2 separate regions of the Homo sapiens genome follow, and region 2 is linked to region 1. Evidence: promoter capture Hi-C in 16 types of primary human blood cells and fetal thymus (Javierre and others, 2016). All regions are on one chromosome and are shown on one strand. The core of a region is centred on a gene start or on the middle of the fragment in contact, and the rest is flanking DNA. Distances in the headings are between cores, read along the strand shown. Region 1 holds the start of KRTAP1-5 (keratin associated protein 1-5). Region 2 has its middle 11 kb from the start of KRT19.

Region 1 (3,844 bases), core at 542-3,041:
TATGCCCCAAAATCTAAAGAAATTGCATTACCTTCTAAATAGATTTAAAAATAGCTACTAGATACTACCTATTTTCCAAGAGAATTTAGGTTTAATTTCTACACCTTAGCCTTTCACATTCTTCCCACTGATCCTTGAATTGCTCTCTAAGCTTCAACTCCCACTATTCACCTTCATTTGATGTACGTATGCATAAGGTGTATCTTTGGTCTAAATGATAGTAGAAGAAACAGCTATAGAGAGCACCCGCTGAGTTCTACCATTGCCATTTGTCAGACAGAAGTGTTAGAAATCTGAAACAGCTCGATTATATTTTGCACTTTGCAACCCAACTTAAAAGATATTCTCTTAAGAAGTTAACACGCTGGACACGGTGGCTTACGCCTGTAATCCCAGCACTTTGGGAGGCTGAGATGGGTGGATCACGAGGTCAGGAGATTGAGACCATCCTGACTAATATGGTGAAACCCAGTCTTTACTAAAAATACAAAAAAAAAATTAGTCAGGTGTGGTCGTGGGTGCCTGCAGTCCCAGCTACTTGGGAGGCTGAGGCAGGAGTATGGCGTGAACCTGGGAGGCAGAGCTTGCAGTGAGCCAAGATCACGCCACTGCACTCCAGCCTGGGCAACAAGCAAGACTCTGTCTCAAAAAAAAAAATTAACACAACCTAGAACAAAACAAAACATATTTTACCATTTAATTTTTAAATTCTTCATTAGGCATTAGAGTGTAATACACAAAATACAATAGGATGCAAATATAGAAAGAAACACGTTTTCCACATTATTTACAAGCTCCCAGAACTTACCTCTATATTTAATTGGTAGCAATGATGGATTACACACAAAATTATGCAATTTCCAAGAGGAATAAAGTAGATGGCAGTACATTTTTCAAAGTGTCATAACTCCTAGATATTTTTTCCCGAGCCCGGTTCCACTACTAAATCCAAAAAATAAAATAAAATAAACCAAAAAACACATTTCCTAGTCTCTTTACAGCAAATAACAAGACTCTTTCATGAGAAGTACTACAGCTTGAAAGTTCTCTTTAATCATGTTTGAGTGGTATTGATATCCATGAATCAAGCCTTTTACTCCACCTATTCAATAAACATTTATTGAATCAGATTCAGTAAACATTTATTAAGGTTCTACCACAAACTAAGGACTCTGCTGGATACCTTCCTAAATACTATGTCAGTTTGGTTCCCAAGAACAGATTTCTGGTCTGGAACAGGAATAATAGTCACACATTCCAAATTGGTTGAAATCAAAGGAACTATAATCGGTAATTCAATAAGACATTGGAACAAAAAAAGGTGAAATCTGCGAATTATGTATGACCAAAGGTATTCCTTCAGTTCAGTAGATATCCAGATATCCAAAATTCAATAAAATTTAGTCTATATATCTAGGAGGAAAAAATAATAGTTAAATATAACAGCACAATTATTACTCTTAGCCTTAGAGGTATGGATAGATTGTCACGTGGAATAACTATTATGTAAAATGAGAGCATTCATTTGGACTAAAATGGAAGTACTCTTTGAACATGGGAAACCACAAACATATTCCAAAGAGCAAAGGACTGATATGAGGAGTCCAGAAGAAACTATAAAACAGTAATTTCTAAACTATTGCTCATAATGTGTCACAAGTATTTCAACATAAGCCAATCAGAGATCCACGGAGTAACAAATTTAAACAAAAACAAAGAAAATATGTTAACAATTTTGTAAACAGCAGCTGGTTCAGATATATAAAAGGACCAACGTGGAAGTCACCACCAAACCTCAGAAACTCCTCCAAGCAACCTAACTCTTAACCCAACTTCTGACACCATGACCTGCTGCCAGACCAGCTTCTGTGGATATCCCAGCTTCTCCATCAGTGGGACCTGTGGCTCCAGCTGCTGCCAGCCAAGCTGCTGTGAGACCAGCTGCTGCCAGCCACGCAGCTGCCAGACTAGCTTCTGCGGATTTCCCAGCTTCTCAACCAGTGGGACCTGCAGCTCCAGTTGCTGCCAGCCAAGCTGCTGTGAGACCAGCTGCTGCCAGCCAAGCTGCTGTGAGACCAGCTGCTGCCAGCCAAGCTGCTGCCAGATCAGCTCCTGCGGAACTGGCTGTGGCATTGGTGGTGGCATCAGCTATGGCCAGGAGGGCAGCAGTGGAGCTGTGAGCACCCGTATCAGGTGGTGCCGCCCAGACAGTCGTGTGGAGGGCACCTACCTACCCCCCTGCTGTGTGGTGAGCTGCACGCCCCCATCCTGCTGCCAACTGCACCATGCCCAGGCCTCCTGCTGCCGCCCGTCCTACTGTGGACAGTCCTGCTGCCGCCCAGTCTGCTGCTGTGAGCCCACTTGCTGAAAGCCAGTTTGCTTATTTTCAATTGCCTAGGTCACAGTGTCTCTGAACTGTTCATCCCTTGACCACCTCTGGACCACTAACAAGTTCTCAGACTTTGCATTGCTTGTGATGGAGACTACTAAGTATATGAGCTCACAATTCTATCTGATTCCATTCTACAATGAATACCTTGACCCTTCACTGGGGACACAGAAATGCTACAAAGCCACCTGCTGATCATCAATTTGCTTGGGATATACTATTTCTGATATTTCTGCAGGATTAAAAATTACTGACATGTTGTGGAATTTATCCATGAGAACTATCCACAAGTCTAATGTTTCCATGCTTTATAATCTATTTTATCTTGTTTACCTAAAATTTTTTGCAACATCAAAGACACCAAATTATAGCCAAGTGACATTCCTCAAGTCACCAGAGAGAATGGAAGCTCATCACCCAACATTCAGCTTCTAAGAAGTAGGCTGGACTTTCCACATTTTAACATCTGATCCATCCCTTGGTTTTTGGATCATAATGATCTTGCCTGCTGGATATTTCAGTTATATCTGTGATACAATGTCTTCTGTCATTTCTTAATAAATATTATATACTAGGCAAAGAAACCATTGTCTTTGTTTTCACTTGTACATCACCTGGTTTAACTGCTTATAATTCAAGAATGTCTACTTGAGGCCAAGAGCAGTGGTTCACACCTGTAATCCTAGCATTTTGGGAGGCTGAGGTGAGTGGATTACCTGAGCTCACGAGTTTGAGACCAGCCTGGGCAACATGGTGAAACCCTGTCTCTACTAAAAATACAAAAAAAAAAAAAAAAAATTAGCTGGGCGTGGTAGTGCACACCTGTAGTCCCAGCTACTTGGGAGGCTGAGGAAGGAGAATCGCTTGAACCCAGGAGGCAGAGGTTTCAGTGAGCTAAGATCATGCTACTGCACTCCATTACACTATGCAATAAACTGCAGCAAGCTCTCAAAATGGCAATTTCCTATATATGACACCAAAGAAGACATAAAGTGCATTAAAAAGTTAAGTAATGGTAAAAAGACACATATTTCCAAGTCGAAAGCAAATGTGGGAGCTTTTCTTTTATTGAGGATCATTGGCCATGTAAGGGTAGGTGGACAACGAAAGGGATGAAGCAAGATGAATTAAGGTATCGAAGGATGGAGACAAGAATGAAAAGGGGGAGAAGAGAACAAAATATAGGAGAAAAGACAGAGAGAAGACACAGTGAAAAAGGCTAGGTATGAGAGGCTGAAAGAAAAGGAGGAAGAGTGATGGAGAAGACACACCTGAAGGGAAAGGAGGTGAACCAGCGTGGCCTTGTTAGTACCATATGCTGTGCATGTGCCAGGTACACATCATGCGAACTTTGCTTCACATAACATCTATACTGATCCTGTGAAATAGATATTGTGATCCTGGCTTGTAGATAAGTAAGTCTAAAAGAAGTTAAATAGCTTGCTTACAGTCACA
Region 2 (3,676 bases), core at 688-3,187, 510 kb before region 1:
GAGACAGATGAGCCTGGTGCTGGGGTGAGTTGCCGGGGTAGGTCAGCTCTGGGGGAGGCGGCTGTGGTCCTTTGGTCTTGAGGTGATAAGGCGATGATGGTGGGGCAGCAGAGGGAAGGAGTGAGGGGGTGCTGGGACAGGGCTGTTGACCCAGCTGGGTGATAGCCCTGTGTTTCCAGCCTCAGGAAACCTGCTGTCTGACTCACCTGGTACTTTGCATGTATCATCTCCTGGCTCAAACAATCACTGTTGGCTTCTGCAGGAAAAAAATAAAAAATCAAATCTAGTGGCTTGACCTGCTAGGCCCTTTGTTGTCTGATTCGAACCAGCTCTGCAGCCTCTGCTCCCTGGTTTTCCTTTGACACAGTGGTTAGACCGCAAGGTGCAGGCCCAGACCTTGTGAGTTCAAATCCCAGCCCGGTGCCTTACCAAACTCAGCTTAAGCAAGTAGCTCTCAGTTTCCTAGTTGGCAAAATGGGAGTGATGACAGTGTCCACAGCATAGGGGAGCTTCGATGATTTAAACAAGTTCATGGATGCCACATACTCGAACAGAGTTAGGCATAGAGGAAGAGGCCAATACATTTAGCCTGTTTTTATAAGATTTCTTTTTTACTGGAACTTCCCACTATCCGCCACCTCCATGTCCTTACTCTAGGCACCATTTACTGTGGCTCACCCTGGGGCTGTGAAGGGCCCCCTCCTCCAGGGCGCCCTCCCTGCTTACCCAGGCCTTGATCCCTCACTCAGGGTGCCCTCCATCTGAGCTCCAGCAGCCCCGGGTCTATGTCCCTCCTCTGACCCTGGCCTGCCTCCTGCCTTTGTCAGGAGCCTACAGTGTTTACCTCTTTCTCTTCCCCGAGCTCAGGTCGTCCCCTGGGGACAGACATCCTGGCTCCAGGGCACCTGCCTGCTGGTTTCTGCTGAGCAGGACACCAGCTGTGGGACTTTAGGCAGGCTGAGGCCCCACTCTCTCTCAGTTTTCTGACCTATATAAACTGCTGGAGGTAGGCTGAAGCACGTGTTTGGGCTTTAAAAGAGGGAGAATCTTTGCTGAAGCAAAATCTCACAGAAAGCTGAGTATATAAAACCAGTGTGAATGCATGTGTGAGAAGGCCTGGGAGTGTGTGAGTGTATGTGTGAGCATGTGTATGCATGTGTGTGCATGTGTGAGTAGGTGTGAATACTGTGTGAGGTGTGTAAGTGTGTGTGAGTGTGGGTGGTCACAGCAGATCCGCTCAGCTCCCACCTCTCTGCTTAGGGCTTAGCAGGCGAGGCTTGAAGATCTCTGGGCTAGAAGATTTCTATGCCCCCATCCTACAAGTGTAGGAGTTTTGTCTAAATCATCTTGCTGGGCTTTTAGATGCTTATTATGTTTCTTTTTCTTTTTCTTTTTTTTTTTGAGACAGAGTCTTGCTCTGTTGCCCAGGCTGGAGTGCAGTGGCTCTATCTCGGCTCACTGCAAGCTCTGCTTCCCAGGCTCAAGCAATTCTTCCTGCCTCAGCCTCCCTAGTAGCTGGGATTACAGGCACTCACCACCATGCCCAGCTAATTTTTGTAGTTTTAGTAGAGATGGGGTTTCGCCATGTTGGTCAGGCTGGTCTTGAACTCCCGACCTCAGGTGATCCACCTGCCTTGGCCTCCCAAAGTGCTGGGATTACAGGTGTGAGCCACTGTGCACGGCCAAGAAGATGCTTACTATGTTTCTTAGCAGTCAAGGTGAGGATAAGGATGAGGTAACATGGACATGGCAGGAATGGGAAACTTGGGGTTCGTGAAGCCTCCTCTCTTCTCCCCATGCTCCAGCCCTTTCTTCTGAAGCCCCAGACATGGATATCCCTGTTGGGATGTGTTTGTTCGGTTTCTGTGTACCAGGTCCTCATTGTATGTTTACTCAGCGAGGACAGATATCTCTGGTGGATCTTCTCATCCCCACAGGCTCCAGCCCTAATCCCAGGCAAGGACTTTGGAGGAAGCACTTTCCTCTCCAACTCCAGCACATTCCACTGGAGGGGGAAGGGTCTTGGCAGGACTGAGCCAGGGGAGGGCAGAAGATGCTTCCTGGCACTGTGGTTCCTTGGTGCATCCCCCGTGCCTCCCTGGTGCTGGCACGGCTGGTAGGCCTTGGGCTGGTAATTGGGCAGCCTGCTGAGGGCTGATGCTGGCACTGGGTAGTTCCTGCCTGGAATGCACGTGAGATGCCTAAGGGAGCCGGTGAGGCTTTGTCTTCTGTTAATACTCTGTGTGTGTGTCTTTGAGGTGGGATAGTGTTCCTTTTCAACTGACTTCAAAAAGCGCTTCAGATACCAGGCCCCTCTCATGGGATCAGGCGTCAGCTGCTCTTCCTTGGGGCAAAGGGGATCTCCCCCGTTCTCCCTCATCTCCCCCTTAGTCCCCAGGCCTGGGCATTCCTGGTATTCCCAGCTCCTGGCAGCCCATCTCGCTATGTGATTCTCTGTGGTTTCTGCCTGATGAATGTTTATCCTGCAGCCGGTTGGAGCCGGGATGAGCAGGGCCTCAGCATCCTGTCTCCAGAGCAGCTCTGAAGCTCCTTCCAGCTGCTGTTAGGAATGCCCCTTCTGCCCCAACCCCCTGCTCACCTGGTCCAGAAACTCACTAACCTGACCACCCCTCCCCCAAGTCTGCAAGGCCCCGCTTGCCAGCCTAAAGCCAGTGGAGCCTGGAATGAGTCAGAATTGAAAATAATAAGCACTCCCCTCAACCCATGCTAGAGGTGAGACATGCTCACTGCTGCTTTTTTGAAAATGTAGAAAACACAGATCTTCATTAGAAATCATCTGTCTCTTGGCTGGGCGCAGTGGCTCACGCCAGTAATCCCAGCAGTTTGGAAGGCTGAGGTGGGTGGATCACTTGAGGTCAGGAGTTTGAGACCAGCCTGGCCAACATGGTGAAACGCTGCCTCTACTAACAATATAAAAATTAGCCAGGTGTGATGGCAGGCACCTGTAATCCCAGCTATTCAGGAGGCTGAGGCAGGAGAATCACTTGAACCCAAGAGGCAGAAGTTGCACTGAGCCAAGATTGCGCCACTGCATTCCAGCTTGGGTGATGGAGTAAGACTCTGTCTCAAAAAAAAAAAAGAAAAAAAAAAAAAAAAAAAAGAAAGTCGCCTCTTTCATACCAACCCCTAACTGTGGGCTCCGTCTGTGAAGGCAGGGCCCAGGTGGACACAGCCCTTGTCCTTCCCCTCCCTCAGCAGGCATCAGCGCTGGCAGAGATCGGGGTACAGTCATTGCTTGGTTAGTAGAACCTAATTCTGCCAGGACGCGTTCCAACACAGATCTAGGAGGGCCCCGGTGTGATTCCTTTCCTGGAGGTGGATTAGATAAACCACCGTCCCAGACCAGCTTCCTGACCTCAGTGCAAATAGGAGGCTCACACCTCAACCAGGAGCCATGCAAGATTCTCTCCTTCCCTTGTCCTCCCCATGAATCGTCAGCCTGACCTGCTGGCTCTGCCCTCGGGATATCCCTTGCACCAGGCCACTGTTCCTGAAGTCCTCTGATGTCTCCCCAGAACAAGCCCCCAGTGTCTCTCACCTGAACTCCATTAGAGCCTCTTATTAGATCTCCAGCTCTTTGGGCCCCACGGTCTATTCCACAGGGAGCAGCCAGGGGTGGGGAGGGCGTCCCAGTGCTCCTCTGCTCAAAGCACCA

The links. Contacts are between HindIII fragments. The CHiCAGO score rates a contact against its expected background, and 5 or more counts as called.
Region 2: a contact is called between a fragment that was not itself captured here and the fragment with the promoter of KRTAP1-5 in region 1, in 5 of 17 cell types (total CD4 T cells, non-activated CD4 T cells, total CD8 T cells and 2 more). The highest score is 9.2, in total CD4 T cells.

The regions. Positions count from the first base shown.
Region 1 is chr17:41,025,155-41,028,998 of GRCh38, reverse strand. KRTAP1-5 (keratin associated protein 1-5) reads left to right here and starts at 1,791. Exons shown (of 1, transcript NM_031957.2): 1 at 1,791-2,973. The coding sequence starts at 1,844. The coding sequence ends at 2,368. The HindIII fragment of the contact is 9,785 bases long and covers 154-3,844 here.
Region 2 is chr17:41,537,681-41,541,356 of GRCh38, reverse strand. No RefSeq gene overlaps it. Among named protein-coding and RNA genes, the nearest start is that of KRT19, 11 kb to the right of the region's middle. RefSeq lists an enhancer at 1,564-2,184. The HindIII fragment of the contact is 5,266 bases long and covers 1-3,676 here.